Regions from separate parts of the Homo sapiens genome. Here regions 2, 3, 4, 5, 6 and 7 are each linked to region 1. The links are contacts of gene promoters, found by promoter capture Hi-C in blood cells and fetal thymus (Javierre and others, 2016). All regions are on one chromosome and are shown on one strand. Each heading gives the region's core, a stretch centred on a gene start or on the middle of the fragment in contact. The rest is flanking DNA. Distances are from core to core; before and after follow the strand shown.

Region 1 (2,747 bases), core at 183-2,682:
GAACTCCTGACCTCAAGTGATCCGCCCACCTCGGCCTCCCAAAGTGCTGGGATTATAGGCATGAGCCACCGCGCCTGACCTCTATTTAGAGTTTCAATAAGATTTTTTTTAAAGGGTGGAAGGCCAACCGCAGGTGGCTCATGCCTGTAATCCCGGCACTTTGGGAGGCAGAGGTTGGGGGGCAGGGGGAATAGCTTGGGCTCAGGAGTTCCTAGATCAGCCTGGGCAACACTTCGAGATCCCCATCTCTACTAAAAACACAAAAATTAGCCAGGCGTGGTGGAGGGTGCCTATAGTTCCAGCTACTCAGGAGGCTGAGGTGGGAGGATCGGGAGATCGAGGCCACAGTGGGCGGTGACGGGCCCACTACACTCCAGCCTGGGACCAAAAAAAAAGGAGGGGGGGGAATGAAATGAGTTACGTAAATGAGATTATATGGAGATTACAGTACATTTGCCTTTGATAATATAAGACTTGTTCTTGAGCATAGTCTGGGGAAAAAGCAACAAAGTAAAAGATACAGGAAAAAGGATGAGTGATGGGGCAAAATCTCCAAAAAGGTAGGAGAAGAGTCAAAGCTTTAGGCGGAGGGAAGAGAAGTAAGGTGGGAGGGAGAGAGACGGAATTAGAAAAACATTTGTTTAGGACAGTGAAAAATACCTCACTAAGAAGGGACAGTTGCAGATGCAGATAGGTCTTCTGACTCGTAGCCTCAACAACTAAATTAGGTTTAAGCTTCTTTCAGGCAGTGTCCATGTTTGACCATATATGCACAACTCATTCAAAAACAAAACTAGTACAACGCTTTGTTGGGAACTCAAATAAATGAATAAAAGCGCAACAAGTCAGTGAGATGCTGACGGGGGTTAGATGCTTTTCCATTTCACCCATCACCGCTGCTGCTCGAGCAGGCCCAAAAACTCTCCCAGGGACCCTGCGATGGGGCGGGGGTGCGAGCCAGCAATCAAAAACTTCCAGCGCTGGGGGTATCACTTTCACACCCGCTGTCCCGGCGAACACCGCACACCCACGCCGCAAGGGGGCGGGCCCCACCTCGGTCTTTGCGGGAGGGCGGCTCTGCCTTCCCGAGCACTGCAAAATCGCAGCAGGGTGGAGGGTCCGCCTGCAAAGCAGAGCGCGCAGGCCCGGGTTGCGGGGGCGAGCCCCTCCGGGAACGCGCGACCCGAGACGCCGCTGCCCTGGACACCGACGCGCCGCCTCAACGCGCGCCTCCACCGCCAGCCCCGGCCCGCCCCGCCTCACCGGTACCCATAACCGCTACCCCTCCTCCCACCGGCCACCCCAAGGATCTCCTACGCTGCTCCGGGCAGCGAGAACCGCAACGCCCGCTCACCTGACCAGGCCGTAACCCGCCGCACTGCCACCCCGTCAGCCCCGCAGCGACTCACGCCGAGCCCGGCAGTGACTCACGCAAAGCCCCGCCTCCTGCGCTTCCCCACAAGCCCCCGCGGCCTCGCCCCGCCCCCTTTAGCCTGGGCTTGAGCGCGCGCAGAAGTCAGCTTCGTGACTTCCTTCTCAGGATGGAACCAGCTTGGTGGCTTGAGGGTATGTAAAAGCAATATCTGAGCCTTCTGCCTGCTTCCAATATGACTAAGCTTAAAAGGAGATAACCCAAAAACTGCAGGATCATCCTGATTTTCTGATCTCCAAAACAATAAAACCTTGAATATTTCCCTGGACTCCCTTAAACAGTTTAATCCCTAATATTTACCTTGCTAATCTCTGACCTTTGTGACATTAATTTGTCTGACCTTTGTGAGTATAATAACCATGTGAGAAAGTTACTGTTTTTCCACCATGAACAGACTACTGTCAACCGGTAATCCTGGTAATTTTAGGGGATTTTTTTTTCCCTTTAAGTACTGGTTGGCAAACTAGTCCTTCCGTCTAACTCCTCGCATCTTTTGCAAGTAAACCCCTTTTCTAAGTGAATCTATCTCTGAGTCTTTCTTTGACATGTGCCAGTGTTACAATCTGTCTTTAGATATGCTCTGGCTTACAGAGAAAAAAGAACGAAACTTTTAACACTTTTTGCTTCTGCTTCCCGTGTGAGGGAGTCTTCGTTGCAATGACAACTCTTAAACGAAAGCAAAACAAAAATAATTGCAGAAGTCCACAGAAGCAAACACAAACAAATGAAACTTTCCATTTAAAACAGGACTGTAACCTCAAATATCCTCAAAATCCAGATCGGTGGTTCTCAGTCTTGACTGAGCTTTGGAATCACTTAGGGAGTATATACATATACACGTGTGTGTGTGTGTGTGTTTGTGTCTGTGTGTGTGTGTGTGTGTGTGTGTGTGTGTGTGTGTGTGTGTATACTGATTTCTGTGTCCTATCCCAGAGATTCTGATGTAACTAGTCTTGAGTGAAGCCAATCAGAATTTTTTAAAGCATAGGATACGGCTGTGCATTTGAAGCTGGAAGCCACTAACCCAGGCGCTGATCAATGAAGAACTAGGCTGGAGTGCTGTCTTACAAGGTCATATCATTAGCACATCCTTCCCATTGCTTAATTATTGGTATCTTTATATTTTAAAATCATAGTAGTCAAATCATTAAGTGTACGTCAAAATATTTACTAATGAAATGATTCTTTGGTTGTATTAGGGAGATAGAGAACTGACTTTTAATAATTTTTTTATTAAGTATTTAAAAGCAAATATTGATTTACTGGTGTTTTTAACAAAAGCAACCACATTTGTTTTATTAATTCTGACAGAGTT
Region 2 (3,115 bases), core at 506-3,005, 1.5 Mb before region 1:
TACATTTTATCTTTCAAGTCTCATGATCTCTTCTTAAATTGTTGATCCTTTTTACTTATATATCAACCACTGCATCTAACTTCATATCTTAAGTGTACCTTCATCCAAGTCACTGGCATCAACCTTGAATAGAACAAGACCATCTGGAAATGGCCCATTGTCCAGCCAACTGCTTGAAGCCTGGAAGTCGACCTTATCTCTCACCCATTCCCTCATCCTTTATATCTAGTTCATTGGCAAGTGCCCTATCATTTCTATCTCCAAAATTTATCCCAAATCCATAGGCATTTTGTTCCCATCTCCACTCTAGTGTGAGCCATCGTCCTTAATTTCTGGATAACTGTGATCATCTTGTCTCCTCACATCCGTCTTCCACCCAGCAGCCAGAGTAATCTTTTTATTTTATTGCTTTATTATGTGTCTCCATCACTAGACTGTAAGACAGACAACGACAGTTTAATTCAACTATTTACCTATTTACCTTCAACATCAAACACACACATAACAGAGTCTTCGCTGAGAATCAGTGAATTTAGAAACATTAGAACCTCATTGGCAAGTTATGTGAGACTATGCCAAATATCTTAACTAAAATCAAGACTCCCTCTATGAAGATAGTCCCATGATCTACTTAGCTCACTGTATCTCAAAAGATGATATTAGTTTAGTGACTATTTAGAAAAACTTTGTTGGTTTCTACAGAGTAATCTTTTCTGCAGTCATTGCACATAAACAAGCTGTTTAATAATTTTCTCTACACTATTCCTTGGCATCTACTTTTTGCCATTTTTGAAAGTTGGGATTAAATTAGCCTATTTCTAATCCTCTGGGGATACTCTTGCTTTCCATGATTTTTAAACAGATTCCTGAGAGTATCTTAGACAAAGTGGCATGAGCAAAAAAAGAAAAAATGAAAAAGATTTGTCACAGTGGTCCTAGATATATTTACTCTTTTTGCTGCAAGAAAATTTTGACTCATCTTTTAAACAACGAACATCTAAACATCGATTTGAAAAACGTTATTTGTCAATGTTTTGAATCATATTAACAGAATTGTAATTATTTGGTCTTCCATAATTTACCCAAAGATTATATGAATAATGTTATTATTTTCATATTTAAAAGTACCATATGCTAATAAAGTGGAAAGCTGTGACAACAAATAAAACCAAAACATTTAATGTGATTGAAATGTTCTATACCATGATTGTGGTGGTGATTTCACAACTGTATTTGGGTAAATTTAACAAACCTCACCCTTTAAATTGGAGAATTTTATTGTATATAAAGTATACCCCAAAACAAACAAACAAAAAAACAACCAACAAACAAAAACCAACCTCAGGACACTTTAAGGGAGATAAGACTATATTTTAAAAGCCTAGCTACACAGCAACAAATCATATGACATCCTCCCAACACAGCATCAGAACCTTTGGTAGGGGTGGAGGTAAAGCAGCCGTCACTGCATCAGATCCAGAAATAGCTCAGATGGGGGTGTTTGGGGCTGCCTTGCAGCTGAGTGCTTTCAACTTCTCCAGGACCCATTCCTCCCAAAAAAAGAGAGAACCGTTGCCAGCCCTCCCTAGCATGACTCTCCCTTGCAAAGTTGAAAGCAGCTATTCTCAAACTTTAACGTGTGTGCAAATTAGGATCTTGTTAAAATGGATGGGTCGGGACCTGAGATTCAGCATTTCTAACAAGTTGCCAGATGCTGCTGCTGCTACTGGTCCACTGACCTCCCTGGAAGCAGCAAAACTGAAAGCCCTAAGCTCTGGCCTTGTGGTGTATACATTCCAGTTCTTTCTGTTTCTCACCACACTGTGCTGTGCATCACCCGCCACACTGTCTGTGGTGAGGTGCTGTGCCAACACTGCAGCTCAGTTACCTGTAAACACAGACCCCACGGCTACCCAAGTAAGGTGACAGTGACGAAAAGCACTTACAACTGAATCATTCTCATTGCTGTGGGATGCTGACTAGCTTCCAGTGTGAAAAGTAAGATCTCATCTGCTTCCTTTGGTTGACTTCCTCAAGCATTACTTTTTTTTTTCTTGAGACAGAGTCTTGCTCTGTCACCCAGGCTGGAGTGCAGTGGCACAATCTTGGCTCACTGCAACCTCTGCCTCCCAGGTTCAAGTGATTCTCCTGCCTCTCCTGAGTAGCTGGGATTACAGGTGCATGCCACCACACCCAGCTAATTTTTGTATTTTTTAGTAGAGACGGGTTTCACCATATTGGCCAGGCTGATCTCAAACTCCTGACCTCAGGTGATCTGCCCACCTCAAGCATTATTTACTTCAGCAGGACATATATTTAAATTCTATTTTCAACCTCCCCTCCCCCATGTTTCACTCCTTCCAAAAGGGATCTGAGGCTTACTAAACTATGTAATTCTTCCTCTTCTAGATCCAGTTAGAAGTATAAAACTTTTACTATCCTCAATTAAACAAGCAGGCTAGTACATATAAAAACTCCTTGAGCTGGGGTAAAAGTGGTCTTTATTACTAGTCCTCCTTTGATCTATCACTGTCTCCTAATAACCCACAGCCCTCACTCCAAAACTTACAGACATACTGCTTGTTGAGGCAGAGTATTTACAAGAAAAATTTAAAATCCAGGACAAGGAACTTAGACAAACCATAGGAAATGCATCGGTTCTGGGCTAGCCTATCTTTCTCCACTCCTTTCTGCTATTGCTGGCCTCTCCCTCACCCTCTTCTACCTCTTACTTCTAGTCTACCTTTCTCAAGGGTCTCAACCCTCCTGCATCTTCACCTTGCACTTTCCCATTCATCTTTCATCTCCACCAACTCTCCCTGCTTCTCCATCCCCACCCCCAATTATTCTAGGGGAAATACCTGTATAAAGATTTGAAAACATTGTTGAAGAGACTAGAACACTAGCTGAAAATGATGGAGGGGCTGGACTGTGGGGAGGACCCAACTGAGAATGCAGACCAAGAACTTAGTGTCGCCGTGTCTGTGTGGTTGGAAAGCACAGCTTCAGGGGTTTTCCAGGCAAGTGTGACAGCCAGCCAGTGGAAACAGGAAGTAGGGCATGAGTAGAAGGTTTAAGTGAGGGACCAGAGGCTCTCAGTGAGGCTCGAGGACAG
Region 3 (2,877 bases), core at 94-2,593, 1.7 Mb before region 1:
TAAGATACTAGTTATCAATGTCTTAGGACATAACCTAATATATCACATCATTTAGAATAGTTTGTTTTAGGGAAACAGGGCAGGTGATTTATAAATTAACAAAATAAAGAAATATTGTCAAAGAGTATATATAGTTGGTTTTTGGAAGAGACAACTCAGACCAAAATAATGCTGTTAGAGATTGAGTGATATTCGGATTATCACCTAAATGTAATCTTATTATAAATGCTACAAACTGCCAACTACCTTTTCAAGTGAAATTTCTAACTGGCCAGTCTTCTGCTATGTTCACCATGACTAACACAGGATATGATTTGTTCGACACCATAAAAGTATATCAGTAAGACATGTTAATGAGAAAGGAAACAGGGATGAAGAGTCAAAAACGATGAATGAACTCATCCCTAAAACAAACTATTCTAAATGATGTGATGATGTAGAGAACAGTCTTACAAATCCATGCCAAAGAAATAACCCTGATATTAATCCAAGTCCCTTAAAGTTGTATCAAAATAATCTCTAAACAAATAGCCCCTTACAGCTCTGAGATTCCTGTCTCCCAAAAAGATCCAAAAACCGAAACATCATTCTCCCATTTTCTGAGGAATAAATATAATCCGTCATCCTTGAATAAATACGTTTTTGTTTTTTATCTCATTTCCCCAAGTTATTCTAGTTACAGATTAACTCTAGACTGTTCACCTATCTCTAACAAAAATTTAAAAAATTAGCCGAGTGTGGTGGCATGCCTGTAGTACTAGGTACTCTGGAGGCTAAGGCAGGAGGATTACTTGAGCCCAGGAGGTTAAGGTTGCAGGGAACTATGGCCATCCCATAGCATTCCAGCCAGGGGACAGAGTGAGACCTTGTCTCTCCCCATACCTCCCAAAAAAGGAAGAAAATAGAGGAACAAACATTATTATATTAAATGTAAATAATGTAAATAATCGTGCACACCAATTAAAAGAGATTATCAAACTGGATTTTAAAGAAAGACTGAATTATATGCCTGTCTACAAGAAACTCCCTTTAAAAATAAAGATAGGTTAAACATATAGAACAAGATATGCCAAATAATGCAAACAATAATAAACGATGGTTGGAATGGCTATATTAATATGAACTATATTTTAAACCTTTTTAAAGAGTCTAAGTGGATTTGTTTACCCTCCATTCAGTTTTAATTATATCTAGTTCTGTGGCAGTTTTGAAACAATGAAGCTATTTCGTTTCATCCATCTCCCTCATATTACTCAAGCTGATGTCTTAAGTAACTGGACATGCACAACAGTTTCTAAAGAAATATGACCTATTACATTAAAACTGTCCTATCTGAAGGGTTTTCTATGATGAAGTTTTCAGGTGAGTGATAGCTTATAAATTTTTTGAGTCATTAATATTTATTCCCCATTATAACAGCTTACAGAATCATTCTTCTTGACAAGCCATCTAGGCATACAAAATAGTGCTATACGTATATTTACATTAAAAAATCACCTATCGGGGCCGGGTACAGTGGCTCATGACTGTAATCCCAGCAATTCAGGAGGCCAAGGCGGGCAGATCACTTGAGGTCAGGAGTTCGAGATCAGCCTGACCAACATGGTGAAACCGTTTCTACTAAAAATACAAAAATTAGCCGGGTGTAGTGGTACACGCCTGTAATCCTAGCTACTCAGGAGACTGAGGCAGGAGAATTGCTTGAACTTGGGAAGCAAAGGTTACAGTGAACCGAGATTGTACCACTGCACTCCAGCCTGGGTGACAGAATGAGACTGTGTCTCAAAACAAACCAAACAAAACCTATCATTTGTAGACTGTTTCATTGATCCCAGAGAATTTTTATAACAGTGTTGTTTTGGCCGCTGTCTTTCATGTTTGTACTTCTGTTTTGGTTTACTTTAAGCTGCTAAATAACTACTGTGGTCAGGGTACTGAGCCTGGTATTGGAATATAAAGACGGATTAAGATACTGTATCACTTCCCGGTACAAGGAGTAGACTTGGAGACATAGGATACAGAAGATGAACAAGATAGCATATGCCAAGTGCCAAATGTGAGAAATAGGCAAAGAGTTTCTAAGACATTTTTTTAAATGTACCAGTGGGGGAGTAACTAACGACTGAGGCAAGTAAAGAAAAATAATGATAATAAAGTGCAAAAAGTTAATGTTCTTAAGTCCAATTAGGACTTACGTTGTGTTTCCTTAGGTGGACTTCAAGTCTATCTCTCTCCCATTTATTTGTTTTGAAAGTGGTTTATAAGATGTTTAAATTGGGGATTTTGAGCTTAATGTAGTAGCAGAAAGGTGGCAGTGGTGGAGAGATGGAAAGTACGAGAAACTAGTTAGGAGAAAATGGAAAGAAGACTAGATATCAAAAAAGAAGGCCTGATTAGGACTAAGCTCCCCTAGGGCACAGACCTAATAGACACATAGATATCAACAAACCTGGAGTTCAGAACTATGGGTAGAGTGAATGCCTACAATATACTACGTAATGAACTACACATTCTGGCATGCCTTTCCACATTTAATCCTCAAAATACCAGAACACGATACATTTAAAAAATTAAAACACCGTCAATACTGAACAACAGAACACTGCATTAAAAAGGCTTAAAAATCACCCACTAAACAAAGCTAACTTAAGAGTATGAACAGAGACAGAGTTAGCTGCTATTACCACTGGACTTAGATAAATGTTATTAAAAAATTAGGTGAGGAAATTGAGATACTGATTAGATCACCTATAAAAGGTGACAATCAGTCATCTAGGACAACCAGAGTTCAAAACCAGGTCTGACTGACTCCTAAACCTAAAACACACACACACACACACACACACACACACACACACACACACAAAGACTGAACTA
Region 4 (2,873 bases), core at 1-2,500, 1.5 Mb before region 1:
TCGTGGAGCCTTGGAGGAATTGCGAACAATCACATGATACGACTTACTGACCTACTACTCGAAGAATCGATTATTTAGTCGGTCATTTCAAATGTGAGGGTAGTAAAGTATTTGCCATTCATTTCACACAGCACACACAAACAATGCAGTGAGTGTCCCCTGAGAGCATTATTTGAAAAGGGGATGTGGTCTGCAAGAGTTATCAGGGAAGTCTGAGAGGGGAACTATGGGGTGTTCCTGAGAACAGTTTGGAAATCCCATGCTAGGTCCCAGGTGAACAGACACTGCAGACAGAATATGCTGTTTACGTGGTTTATGTGGTTATGTCATTCAGAGAAAGAACCTTGGGAGATTGGTAGGGGAATTTTATTCCAAAAGGAGCATTATCTATATGTTTGATATTGAACACGGGGAGGAAGGTCCACAAGACTTAGCTAAGGCCTGCCCCAACCCCATACTAAAAAAGAAAAAAAAAAAGGCAAAAAACATAACCAGGATTTTATTTTACTTTTTAAAGAAAGATCAAAACAATAGGGGGAAAATGATTATTTAAAATATAACCTATAGGTACTGTGAGCTGAGGCACACTTAACGTATTAGGTTGGGTTTCCCAGAAGCAAATCCCAATACAGAATGTACGTGAAAGTGATTTATTAGGAAGTGTTCCCAAGAAGAATTCACAGAGGGTCAGGGAGTGAGGCTGGGAAGGGAAGGAGCCACACAAGGAAGGACGCAGTATCCAGCAAAACCCAAAGGGAAACTGGCACCATCCCACGGGGGAGCAGTGCAGACACGCAAACACATCTCCACACCGTCCCCATCAGTGGCAGGGCTGCTGTGCCATTTACACCTGTCAGTCACGGGTTAAGTAAGCGGGGAAATGCTGAATACCCGGCATGTACATCACATAGTGGGCTATACTGAAAATCTCTCAGGGAACAGATCCAGGAATAAGGACATCATTTGACTGTCAAAAGGGTCTTTGAAAACTATGAATGGAAAGTAGATCTAACTTTTTCCTTCATGCTGTTCCAAACCATCTGTATTCCACAGGAAAATAAACCTTTACCTCAAATAAAAACTTTGATGTTTGAAAAGTAAAAGCAAGCGGCTTCCCCAGGCAGAAAGGACTGCTTCTAAACTACTTAGAAGAGCTATCCTTTCAAAAGGTAGGGATGGTATATAACATGTTTTCTGATGCCCGATTTCCAAGTGCTGAGCTGTTCATACAGATCTAATTTGCTTCCAATGTGACTGACTGAAGAAAAAGTCACCAACTGGTGGTGGTCAGGGGCCTGTCCTGCTCTCAGACACATTCTGTTTGGCCTGCCTATTGTTTCCAAAAATTGGAATTGCAATGTTTATCTTCATATAAGACATTTTTTGCTCATCAAGAATATATCAAAAAATTACTCTATGTCCACGGTACCCATATCATGAATAAAATAAAAAGCTGATGATCAAAGATAATAAATACCATGGGGGCAGCAAGTATGACAACATCAAATATCACAACAGAGATGAGAATTTCACATCCTATGAATAGTATTCTTTTTTTCCTTTTTTTTAAGAGGCAGAGTCTCACTGTGTCACCCAGGCTGTAATGCAGTGATGTGAATACAGCTCACTGCAACTTCAACCTCCTGGGCTCAAGCCATCCTCCTGCCTTGGCCTCCCGTGTAGCTGGGACCATAGGTGCATACCACCATGCCAGGCTAATTAAAAAATATATTTTTTTGTAGGGGCAGGATCTCACTTTGTTGCCCAGGCAGGTCTCAAACTCCTGGGCTCAAGCGATCCTCCTGCCGATATTACAAGCATGAGCCACTGCACCTGGCTGATAGTATTCTTAACAAAAATAATAAGACAAAGGCCACACACAGGCAATCTGAAGTAGGATGGTAAAGCTGGTTCAAAGAACATTTTGAGGCCAGGTGTGGTGGTTTGCACCTGCAATTCCAGCACTTTGGGAGGCAGAGGCAGGAGGATTGCTTGTTCTTATATCTTCTTGTAAGTTAGTAAGACCCCATCCTTACAAAAAAAAAAAAATTGACAGGTCTGGTGGTGTGTGCCTGTGGCCCCAGCTACTGAAGAGGCTGAGGTGGAAGGATCACTTGAGCCCGGAAACTCAGGCCTGCAGTTAGCCGTGTTCTAGCCACTGTACTCCAGCGTGGGTGACAGAGTGAGACCCTGTCTCAAAGAAAAAAAAAAAAAATTCAGAGCATTTTGAAGAACTGGATGTTTACAGGCATATAGAAATAATAGAAAAATATAACAAGATTGTTAAGTTAGATACAAACCTTTGAGGTTATTTTTCTACTGGGCAGAAATCATTTGCATCTCTACCAGATAAAAATCTGAACAAACAAAAGTACATTCCTCTAGATAATTAAATAACCCTTGGCTAGGACTGGTAAATAATTTCCCAGTTTCATATTATATCTTCTCTTCATCTTAAGTTTGGAGTAATTTTTTAAAATAATTTTTTTAATTTAACTTTTAAATTCAGGGGTACATGTGCAGGTTTGTTACATAGGTAAAGTTTTGTCACTTGGGTTTGTTGTACAGATTATTTTGTCACCCAGGTATTAAACCATTGGTTATTTTTCCTGATCCTCTATCTCCTCCCACCTTCCACCCTAGAAGATTTTGAAAATATCTCTGACTATACCACTAGAGATTATGATTTAATTGGTCTGAGGTAGGGCCCTAGCATAATTATTTTTTAAAGCTGTCCTAAATTCATAAATTTCATAAAAACTACCCCTATCATTTTGAAACTGGCTATGCGGAAACAAACTAGAGTTGAACAGGGATTTACCAATTAATATTTTCTGATGCATATGGTCAAATACCATCTCTAGTTTCTATCT
Region 5 (2,856 bases), core at 271-2,770, 1.1 Mb after region 1:
GATGAACCAGAGAAAAAGACTGAAAAGAACTAGCAGCCAGTGAGAAAAGACAAAGAAAAGCATGGCAACGAAGAAGCCAAAAACATGTTTCAAGGAGGGAGGGGTCAACTGTGTCAAGTACCACCGAAGTGGAGAGGGAATAAGGGACAGGGAAGTAACCACTGAATTTGGAAAAATGGAGATTATTGGTGACCTTGACAAGAGCTGTTTCAGTTGCATTGCGGGAATGGAAGCCTGAGTGGAATGAGTTTGGAAGAGAATGAAAAATGAGAAGAAGACAGTAAATACAGGCAACTTTTATTACAGGTTCTATTATCACAAGGGCCAAATAACCAGGCTGACTCTGGCCATGCTTCCCAGCAGCCTTCCTCTCAAACCTCCAGATCTTCAGGTCCTCAGTTCTTGCAGGGCAGGGGCACATTCTTTTTTTTCACTCAATGACGTATTTAACAAGCATCTACTGTACGCAAGGCACAGTGCTAGGTGCTATGTGAGTTACAAAAATAAATTCTGTTCACAGGAAGTGTTTAGAACAACAGGGTTATGAGGTCGGACGCGGTGGCTCACGCATGTAATCCTAACACTTTAAGAGGCCGAGACAGGTGGATTGCCTGAGCTCAGGAGTTCGAGACCAGCCTGGGGAACACGGTGAAACCCCGTCTCTACTAAAAATACAAAAAATTAGCCGGGCGTGGCGGCGTGCGCCTGTAATCACAGCTACTCGGGAGGCTGAGACAGGAGAATCGCTTGAACCCGGGAGGCGGAGGTTGCAGAGAACCAAGATCGTGCCATTGCACTCCAGCCTAGGCGACAGAGCGAGACTCCGTCTCAAAAAAAAAAAGAAAAGAAAAGAAAAAAAAGAACAATAGGGGGTATGAGACACATACCAAGAAGAGTATCAAGGCTCAGATGTAGTAATACAGGTGTTCAAAGGCGTTTCCTTTCACTTGTAAAAGGTGATGTGGAAGGCTTGGAAGAGGAAGTGACGCTTGAGCTTTTAAGTATAAGTAGAATTTTAAGATATGTAATTAAGGACGCGGAAAAGAAGTCATTCCCGGCAAAAGAAATAATACGGCCGGCGCAGAGGCGGGAAAACATGGACTGACTGCGAGAGAAAAGCCAGAGTTCCAGTTTGGCTGCACCAAAGGCTACTTTAAGCATGAAAGAATAAGGTCAGACTGGGGGTATCAGAGGCGCTGTGCCCATAGGCAGAGTCCTGGGAGGAAAATATCGTGCAGGGACGTGGCCTGTGCCCGGAGGAGCCAACACTACCCCTGGGGCCCGCGCCCCTTCACTCCAGCCCGCCCGAGCTTCCCGGGTTCATGCCCCTTCTCTGAGGCGTTCTTTCCCGCCTCATCCAGGAGGCAGGGGCCACCGCCGTGCCCTGACTCTAGCCCTTTCTGTAAGCTCGTGGGAACCGCCTCCACCGCCCGGGACTCACCACCCTGAGTCTGAACCGCCCAACGCGGCCTCAACGTCGCGGAGCCGTCGCCATCTTTCCCGTTTCCTGGTCGCGGAGATGAACACCCCCCACCCCCCCGGCCGCGAGGCAAGCTGGGAAGGCGAGTTCCTGGAGCTGGGCGGCACAGGCCGACACTGAGGCCTGGAAACTACCAATCCCAGAATGCATGACTTGAGCGCCGGCCCCAGGCTGCGGGGTCTGCCGGGCAATGTGGTTTGCCAGACGTTAGCGTCCGGGAAGGAAGAGTTTTTCGCCAATAGGCTTTCGGCATTAGGTTCTCCCGCCGAGCACCCTTCTTGGAATCGGCTGGTCTTCCTAGAAACTACGGTCTATGACTGTCCTTGCCCGTGGCTTACAGTGGAGGAATTTAAGGGCTTCCTGAGATATCTGTAGTACGTAATTATAGCTAACAACCGCAGTAACAATAAATACCATTCGTGGAAAAGCGGTTTTTATAATAATTCTGTGAGAATGGGGCTAGCCCCATTTTACAGTTGGACAAACTAAAGATCAGGTTACCGGAGTAGGTTCACAAGGAGGGTGATGCAGTTCTCCATTGTGTGTGGAACTATCCCAGGCTTAGGAGGACGTTTTAGCAACCTTGGCCCCTGCAGCCGGGTGAATGCCATAACAACCCCCAGTTATTGTTACAGCTCCAAATGAGCCCACACAATGGGCTCTAAAGTCCTCCCGGAAGGATGGTATCTCCTGGGCTCTAGCACCTGTTTTCTCAACATTCCAGATGGAACCCTGGTTTCCTCAATTTCTTGCCCTTTGGAATGTGACCAATTGTTGAGCTATCTTGGTATTTTTGCTTCTTTCTTCCCCCAGATTCCCCTACTTCAGTCTTCCACTGAGTTTTGTTGTTGCTGTTGTTGTTGTTGTTGATGTTGTTGTTGTTGTTTTAACCTCAAATCGTAAGTTCACTTTGTGTTTCTCTTTGGTCTTATGGGTTCATAACTCTTTCCCTCAAAACAAAACAAAACATTGCAGTTGCGGAAACGGTTTAGATAACCAGAAGTATCTCGGACCTCCCTTCCCATTTTGCCAGCAGCAGGTTTGTTGCTTCAATTCCACATGGCTGTAGGTCTGCCTTTTCTCTCTGAATATGCCCAAGCTCTCAAGCAGAGCCTCAGGATAGACCCAAGTAATCCTAAAGCCCTGAGCATCACGTACAATGGCCCAAAGTAACCCTCGGAGACACACACTTCTCTTAGAACCTGCAGCCTTTCACCTCCCAGCTTCTACTCCAGAGAGAACGCAAGGGAAAGAAGAGAGCTCTGAGATCTGTTAGGTGTAATTCACCACAAAAGCACGAGAGGGCGCTCGACTCACAGATTCACAGATTAAACTAAGAATCAGACCAACCATGGTAGGCCAGAATCTTCAAAAAC
Region 6 (2,828 bases), core at 288-2,787, 1.3 Mb before region 1:
GTGTTTATTGTTTCGTTAATTATCAAAGCAGCTTCCACAGGACACGGAACCTGAAATTTCTTGCAAATGACCTAAAAATATATTATTTTGCATGTGTTAAACTAAGTGACATGGCAGGGCTTATAAAAAATTTTTTCTAAAAAAAAAATCATACCCACCACAATCAGAAAGAACACCATACACAACAAGGAAAGGCCACTGGTATATCCCAAATATCCTATAAGGAGGGGTGGCAGGAATCAGTATTAGTTTAATGAAACAGATTTAAGGCAAATATCTTTTTCCCACTGAATAACTCAATTCTGCTGGGAAGACTTTAGGCACTAAAGTATGTGTATAGCACTAAATTTCTAATTCTTATGATACTAAATTATAGATTTATTTAAATATACTTGTCATAACCCAAGCTAATAAAAACTATCATTTGCATTATTTCTTACAAAGCACAACATATAGTGTCAATTAAATATTTTGGCTCCTAAATTTTGCATGCTGTAAGTCCCAAAGATATACCTTTCTACTTTCTAGGGCTTTTTCATTCTGATTAATTTCTATTCAGAGAAAGCCCAACTAACTGGTGAGAGGCTCATTTCAATTCTCTTTAGAGATGAGTTTGCTCACCTAAATTTCTAAACAGCGACAAAGGAAGAATGACCACCAATGACACCAACAGAACCAAATAGTTCCCGTTCAGATACCACAATCTAAAGAAAACAGAAACAAGGTCAAAACAGTCACAAATATCCTCTGAAAAATATACACATCTTCTAACAGGACTCATTTCATAGGAATACCATGAAAACAAACACACAAAAAAGACATGTTTGGAAAAAGTTTCCCCTGTTCAAGATAGGAATAACTTTTTAATTTTGTGTGCTAGATGAACATTTACTCAGGTTAGAAGTCGGGTATAAAACAGTGTAACTTTTGTCCCACTACTTGCTCTGGGAAGGCTGCCAGCTGATTCATAACACAAAATGCTTCTCAAAGACTTGATACTAATGCAGGGAACAAAGCTTGTTTGTTAAGCCAGTAATCTTATCTTTAAGCACTTTCAGAAAAATTGTACACCAACTTTGGTACAGCTTTAGCATGTAATTTCTAATGCTGGAAACTAAAAAATTTTAAAACAAGTTTTTTTCCAGATGCGTTAGCAAATATTATTAAATATTTCAATGAGGAAACGTTTTCATAAAATGCACAGGCAAACTGCCCCCCCCATAAAAAAAATTATAAAACTCAGTCCCCCAAACCAGGACTTATTCCAGGTTATCAGAGTATGTTGTGACATCTTGACCCACCTTTAACTCCAAAGACAGCCAAAAATATCCCTTTTGAACTTTAGAAAACATTATGTATATCCTCTAAGCCTTTTTCTTTTTAGGTAAATCATGAATTGCACTGTCTTCTAAATCACTATTTTCAAATTCTAATTGCCTCATGAATTCTGTTCACTTCAGCAGTAAGCACTCTGCAGAACACCAACACTTAAAGATCAGCTTAAAAAATTAAATTTCTAAAGCCACATCTGAGATAACAGCACTTCTCTATTTTGACGTAATGAGCTGCACATAGGGTGGGAAGTAAATTATCCTTCCCCATGTTTACTTTAGATAAATACCTGTGAGTTCACTGGGATGAGTAACTTTGCTAGAAGAAAATGGTTTCTATAGCATGCCCAAACATTTTCTGGCACATGTTGAGTATCCCTTATTCAAAATGCTTGGGACCGAAGTGTTTTGGACTTTGGAGTACCTGCACATACATATTTGAAGTATCTTGGAGATGGCACTGAAGTCTAAACACAAAATTCACTTATGTTTCCTATACACCTTCTTAAACCCATAGCCTAAAGGTGATTTTATACAGTATTTTAATTAATTTTGCACACCTGTCACGAGATCAGGTGTGGATTTTCCACTTGTAGTGTCATGTTGGCACTCAAAAAGTTTTGGATTTCAGATTAGGGATGTCCAGCCTGTATTTTGCATTGAACAGATTAAGTCTTAAGAATTCCAAACTTACAAAAATAAGACGGATTAATTTTTAATGTAATTCAAAGCTTCAGTCCTCACTTAGGATATATATTAAAAACACCTATAACTTCTTTAAGTATGAACATAAAGACAGAAAGCAAGTTCTAGAAAACCTGTTTTAGAAATTAAGATATCCAAAATTGTAGGGCTAGCTACTATCTTTCGGCCTTTCCTTCTCCAAAGTTCGAATCAGTTTACGGGGATGGGGGGCCTTCTTGGTCAGTTTCAAAAGGAACATTTATGGATAATTAACTAATCATTTTGTATACAACTTTGATAAAAATGTATCTAACCACTTTTGACTATAATTGTTTCTTATGAGTAACCTTACTTAGCACCTACCCAGTTTTATCTTCAATGTTCGTTAATGCCTGGATCACCAAAGGCAACTCATATTTCACTATGAAGAGGTAGCTTGACATAGCTGGAGGAAAACAAAATTATACCATTACAAGTGCAAAACGCGGCACGTGACACTAAAACGCATGTGTCACCATTCTGTGCTCCACAATGAGCATAAAGTCTACCCAAATAATCTTTTGAAAAATTCTTACCTCCAATGTTCTGCATTGTAATTGATCCAGATGCTGCAAGCTTTCCAACTAATCCAAATGCCTTATATCCCAATTGTTCATATAATAAAGACCCTACAATTTGAAGACAGAAGCATGAAGCCAAGGATTTTAAAAGAGAAATAAAATGATAGGTATACATTGTTTTAGAAAAATCAAGAATGCTATCATACCTCCTTCATTGGCAGTCTTCAAAAGGAGATGAACAGAATACAGGGAA
Region 7 (2,743 bases), core at 13-2,512, 1.4 Mb before region 1:
TGGTTGGTTTAGTAAAATCAGGGGGAAAAGTCAGTCAAGCTCATAATTTCACACTACTAAGACTAAGACTTTGTCAAGCAACATATGGAGGTCCTCATTTAATTTCTGATGTTTGTTTTGTTTTCCTTGCTTTAAATCTAAACCAATGCATATCAAAATCACCCCTGATATTTTCTAAGCTCCCATATTTGGGCTCCATCCCAGGCCAACTAAATCTGAATCTCTGGAGTTGAAGTCTTGGCACTGACAGCTTTTAAAACACCCTAGATGAGTCTAATGTGAAGTCTGCTCTGAGACTCACTAATCTAAAACCATCACCTGACCCTGAAGATTAGCAGCATGCTTAATGCCAGATGACTATCATCTTGAATAGTTTTTTTAAACTTGTTCAAGGACTTTCTCAGCTCTGCTCTCATTGTATCTTCACAACTCTGAGGTACGCAGCACTGATACTATTATTAGCATTGGACAGATGAGAAAATGAGGCATAAAAATGTGAAATGAGTTGCTCAAGGGTACCCAGCTAGTTATTGCCAAAGACACATTGTAACCTCACTTGAAACAGAGTTACTTACTAATAGTAGAGGAATTCAGTGATTGGGAAGGTAACATGGTTAGGGGAACTCCTCTGTTATTAGTAAGGTTATCACTAGAAAACAAATATGTGATCAATTTTCAGAAATAAGTACAACAATATTTTTAAATTTAAAATCTTATTTTAAATCTAGGGTCAGTGTCTTTTTTTAGGTTATTGAAGTTAATCTTTTAATTTTACTTAAAATTTTTTTATTTCAATAGATTTTGGGGTATCAGTGATTTTTGGTGGTTATATAAATGAATTGAAAGTGATGAAATCTGAGACTTTAGTGCACTTGTCATCTGAGTAGTACACATTGTACCCAATCTGTAGCTTTTTATCTGGCATCCTCCCTTCCAACCTCTGGCTTCTGAGTCTCCACAGTCCATTATATTACTCTGTGTGCCTTTGCATACAAGATGTCTTTTTCGAAGTCTGTCACACATTCTTCAAAGTACTTCTGTGCACATACTTCTCCTACCTCCTCACCACCTTTCATAGATGTATATTCTCCCAGAGACTAAAAAGATCCAGGTAGTTTCCATCAAGATATATTTTCAGAAAAGTATTTTTAAAAGATTACATAGTCACAGAATTTCAGAGGTAAAGGGAACTTTACTGATCAACTTTCTCTCCCTCCTCTGGTAGATATGTTTAATTCAATACATATGGAATGCTAACACTATACCAAATACTTCACATTCATTATCTTCATTAAATCTTTACCATCACTCAGTAAAGTGGGTACCACCAACACTACCACCAGCATCATCATTCCCATTTAGCAAAAGAAAAAACTGAGGCTTAGAGATGCCAAACACCTTGCCCAAGATTCCTGGGTGAGTAAGCTGAGGCCTGATATTTATATTTGACTCAGAGCCTAAGCCCCTATTCACCACCTTCCATCACCTGGAGTAACAACAGTCCAAAATGTGAAGGATAAACAAATACTTATGAAAATGCCAGTGAGGTGATCAGTGAACACTTCTCCCAAGAGGTGGAAAAGTGGCATCAGGGATAGGCCATCACAAGTACACAGGATTTCAGTAGGCATTCTGGACTGGAATCCAATCCACACAGATATTGAAGCAGAAAAGTGATAGGGAGGGAATAGGGTGAACTGTGAGAAAGAAAATATCAAGAGAAAAAATTGGAAAGAGATGAGAAGGCAGATTGTGAAGGGTCCTAAGTGTATGGCTAAGGAATTTAGACTGTATTTGTGTGCAATGGAAACCCTCAGAGGTTTTTAAAAGCAAGGTCCTTTAACAAAATGTGAACTGAATTTTAGAAATATAAACCTCATGAAAGAATGGAGATTTAATTAGGGGAGCATAACTTGATATGGAGGAGAGACCAACAGGAAAGCTGTTCCACCTCAGTAACTGGCTGTTTCACTCTTAACCATATGTTGTGCTTGCATTTTTCTCCACCGCCCACTCCCACTGCCCCTAGGTTGTTCAAGGCACCTCTATATCTGTTTCATATGTCTCCAAGTCTAGGTAAGGTGACAGGGACCTGAACTTGGGCAGTGGAAATGGAGACAAGAGGACAAGTGTGAGGGGTATTTTCAAGGGCCTGGTCACTGCTCAAAGTGGGAAGGGCAGTACGAGAAGGAGAAGCAGAGAAGAAAAAGACTCTCATTTTCAAACTTAGGAGAAGGGGAACAGATGAGATATAGAACGGAAGGGATGGCCAATAATATCACAAAGAGATGAACAAGATGGCCTGATCAAGGTCTCAAGGTCTCGATCCAACAAGTATTTATTAAGCAGGTACTATGTGCTGGACATTAGAGGAACAATGAGTAAAATCGGTTTTTGTCCACAAGCATCACCCAGAGTAAAGAAAAGAGTAGCAATAGTCAGATATCAGAAACATGGTGCTCCTTTCATTAAATGGCCTTAATTCATGAAGCATCATAAAAAATATACATAAACAACATACATATAGGTTTAAAGCTCCAAAACACCTTTAAAATCTATTCATCTATCTGTTCAATTATATTACAGTCAAAGAAGAGTGCAATAAGTACTTGCTGTTCCTTCTTCCTGTTCCTTCCGCTGGCCTTCTTCCCTCAATTATGGAAATAGCTGATCCCTTTTCATCATTCGGGTCTGAGGACAAATGTTATACCCTCACACCGCCCCTCCCGGTGAGTCACTCTAT

Evidence for each region. Contacts are between HindIII fragments. The CHiCAGO score rates a contact against its expected background, and 5 or more counts as called.
Region 2: a fragment that was not itself captured here is called in contact with the fragment with the promoter of RPAP3 in region 1 in 2 of 17 cell types (naive CD4 T cells and total B cells); the score reaches 6.5 in naive CD4 T cells.
Region 3: a contact is called between a fragment that was not itself captured here and the fragment with the promoter of RPAP3 in region 1, in 1 of 17 cell types (naive B cells). The highest score is 5.4, in naive B cells.
Region 4: a contact is called between a fragment that was not itself captured here and the fragment with the promoter of RPAP3 in region 1, in 1 of 17 cell types (total B cells). The highest score is 6.8, in total B cells.
Region 5: a contact is called between the fragment with the promoter of DDX23 here and the fragment with the promoter of RPAP3 in region 1, in 4 of 17 cell types (fetal thymus, M0 macrophages, neutrophils and 1 more). The highest score is 11.6, in fetal thymus.
Region 6: a contact is called between a fragment that was not itself captured here and the fragment with the promoter of RPAP3 in region 1, in 1 of 17 cell types (naive CD4 T cells). The highest score is 7.3, in naive CD4 T cells.
Region 7: a fragment that was not itself captured here is called in contact with the fragment with the promoter of RPAP3 in region 1 in 1 of 17 cell types (naive CD4 T cells); the score reaches 5.7 in naive CD4 T cells.

Annotation. Positions count from the first base shown.
Region 1 is chr12:47,704,598-47,707,344 of GRCh38, forward strand. RPAP3 (RNA polymerase II associated protein 3) reads right to left here and starts at 1,433. Exons shown (of 17, transcript NM_024604.3): 1 at 1,355-1,433. RPAP3-DT (RPAP3 divergent transcript) reads left to right here and starts at 1,491. Exons shown (of 4, transcript NR_183480.1): 1 at 1,491-1,566. RefSeq lists enhancers at 647-1,148, 1,149-1,648, 1,369-1,663, 1,595-1,744 and silencers at 895-984, 1,015-1,304, 1,375-1,454. The HindIII fragment of the contact is 881 bases long and covers 734-1,614 here.
Region 2 is chr12:46,213,374-46,216,488 of GRCh38, forward strand. All of the region lies in intron 5 of SLC38A1 (solute carrier family 38 member 1), which reads right to left. Among named protein-coding and RNA genes, the nearest start is that of SLC38A1, 54 kb to the right of the region's middle. RefSeq lists enhancers at 2,017-2,076, 2,638-2,967. The HindIII fragment of the contact is 5,560 bases long and covers 1-3,115 here.
Region 3 is chr12:45,980,921-45,983,797 of GRCh38, forward strand. The region is part of intron 1 of SCAF11 (SR-related CTD associated factor 11); the gene reads right to left. Among named protein-coding and RNA genes, the nearest start is that of SCAF11, 8.2 kb to the right of the region's middle. The HindIII fragment of the contact is 3,959 bases long and covers 1-2,877 here.
Region 4 is chr12:46,174,323-46,177,195 of GRCh38, forward strand. No RefSeq gene overlaps it. Among named protein-coding and RNA genes, the nearest start is that of SLC38A1, 93 kb to the right of the region's middle. The HindIII fragment of the contact is 4,589 bases long and covers 1-2,873 here.
Region 5 is chr12:48,850,643-48,853,498 of GRCh38, forward strand. DDX23 (DEAD-box helicase 23) reads right to left here and starts at 1,521. Exons shown (of 17, transcript NM_004818.3): 1 at 1,442-1,521. It overlaps LOC105369755 (a long non-coding RNA gene), which reads left to right and starts at 1,079. Exons shown (of 2, transcript XR_944925.3): 1 at 1,079-1,172; 2 at 1,408-1,907. RefSeq lists enhancers at 1,377-1,566, 2,446-2,655. The HindIII fragment of the contact is 5,632 bases long and covers 1-2,856 here.
Region 6 is chr12:46,364,486-46,367,313 of GRCh38, forward strand. SLC38A2 (solute carrier family 38 member 2) reads right to left here. Exons shown (of 16, transcript NM_018976.5): 5 at 2,782-2,828; 6 at 2,591-2,683; 7 at 2,379-2,460; 8 at 622-704; 9 at 159-217; 10 at 1-71. Among named protein-coding and RNA genes, the nearest start is that of SLC38A2, 6.9 kb to the right of the region's middle. The HindIII fragment of the contact is 1,046 bases long and covers 1,015-2,060 here.
Region 7 is chr12:46,263,837-46,266,579 of GRCh38, forward strand. All of the region lies in intron 1 of SLC38A1 (solute carrier family 38 member 1), which reads right to left. Among named protein-coding and RNA genes, the nearest start is that of SLC38A1, 3.8 kb to the right of the region's middle. RefSeq lists an enhancer at 2,698-2,743. The HindIII fragment of the contact is 3,181 bases long and covers 1-2,743 here.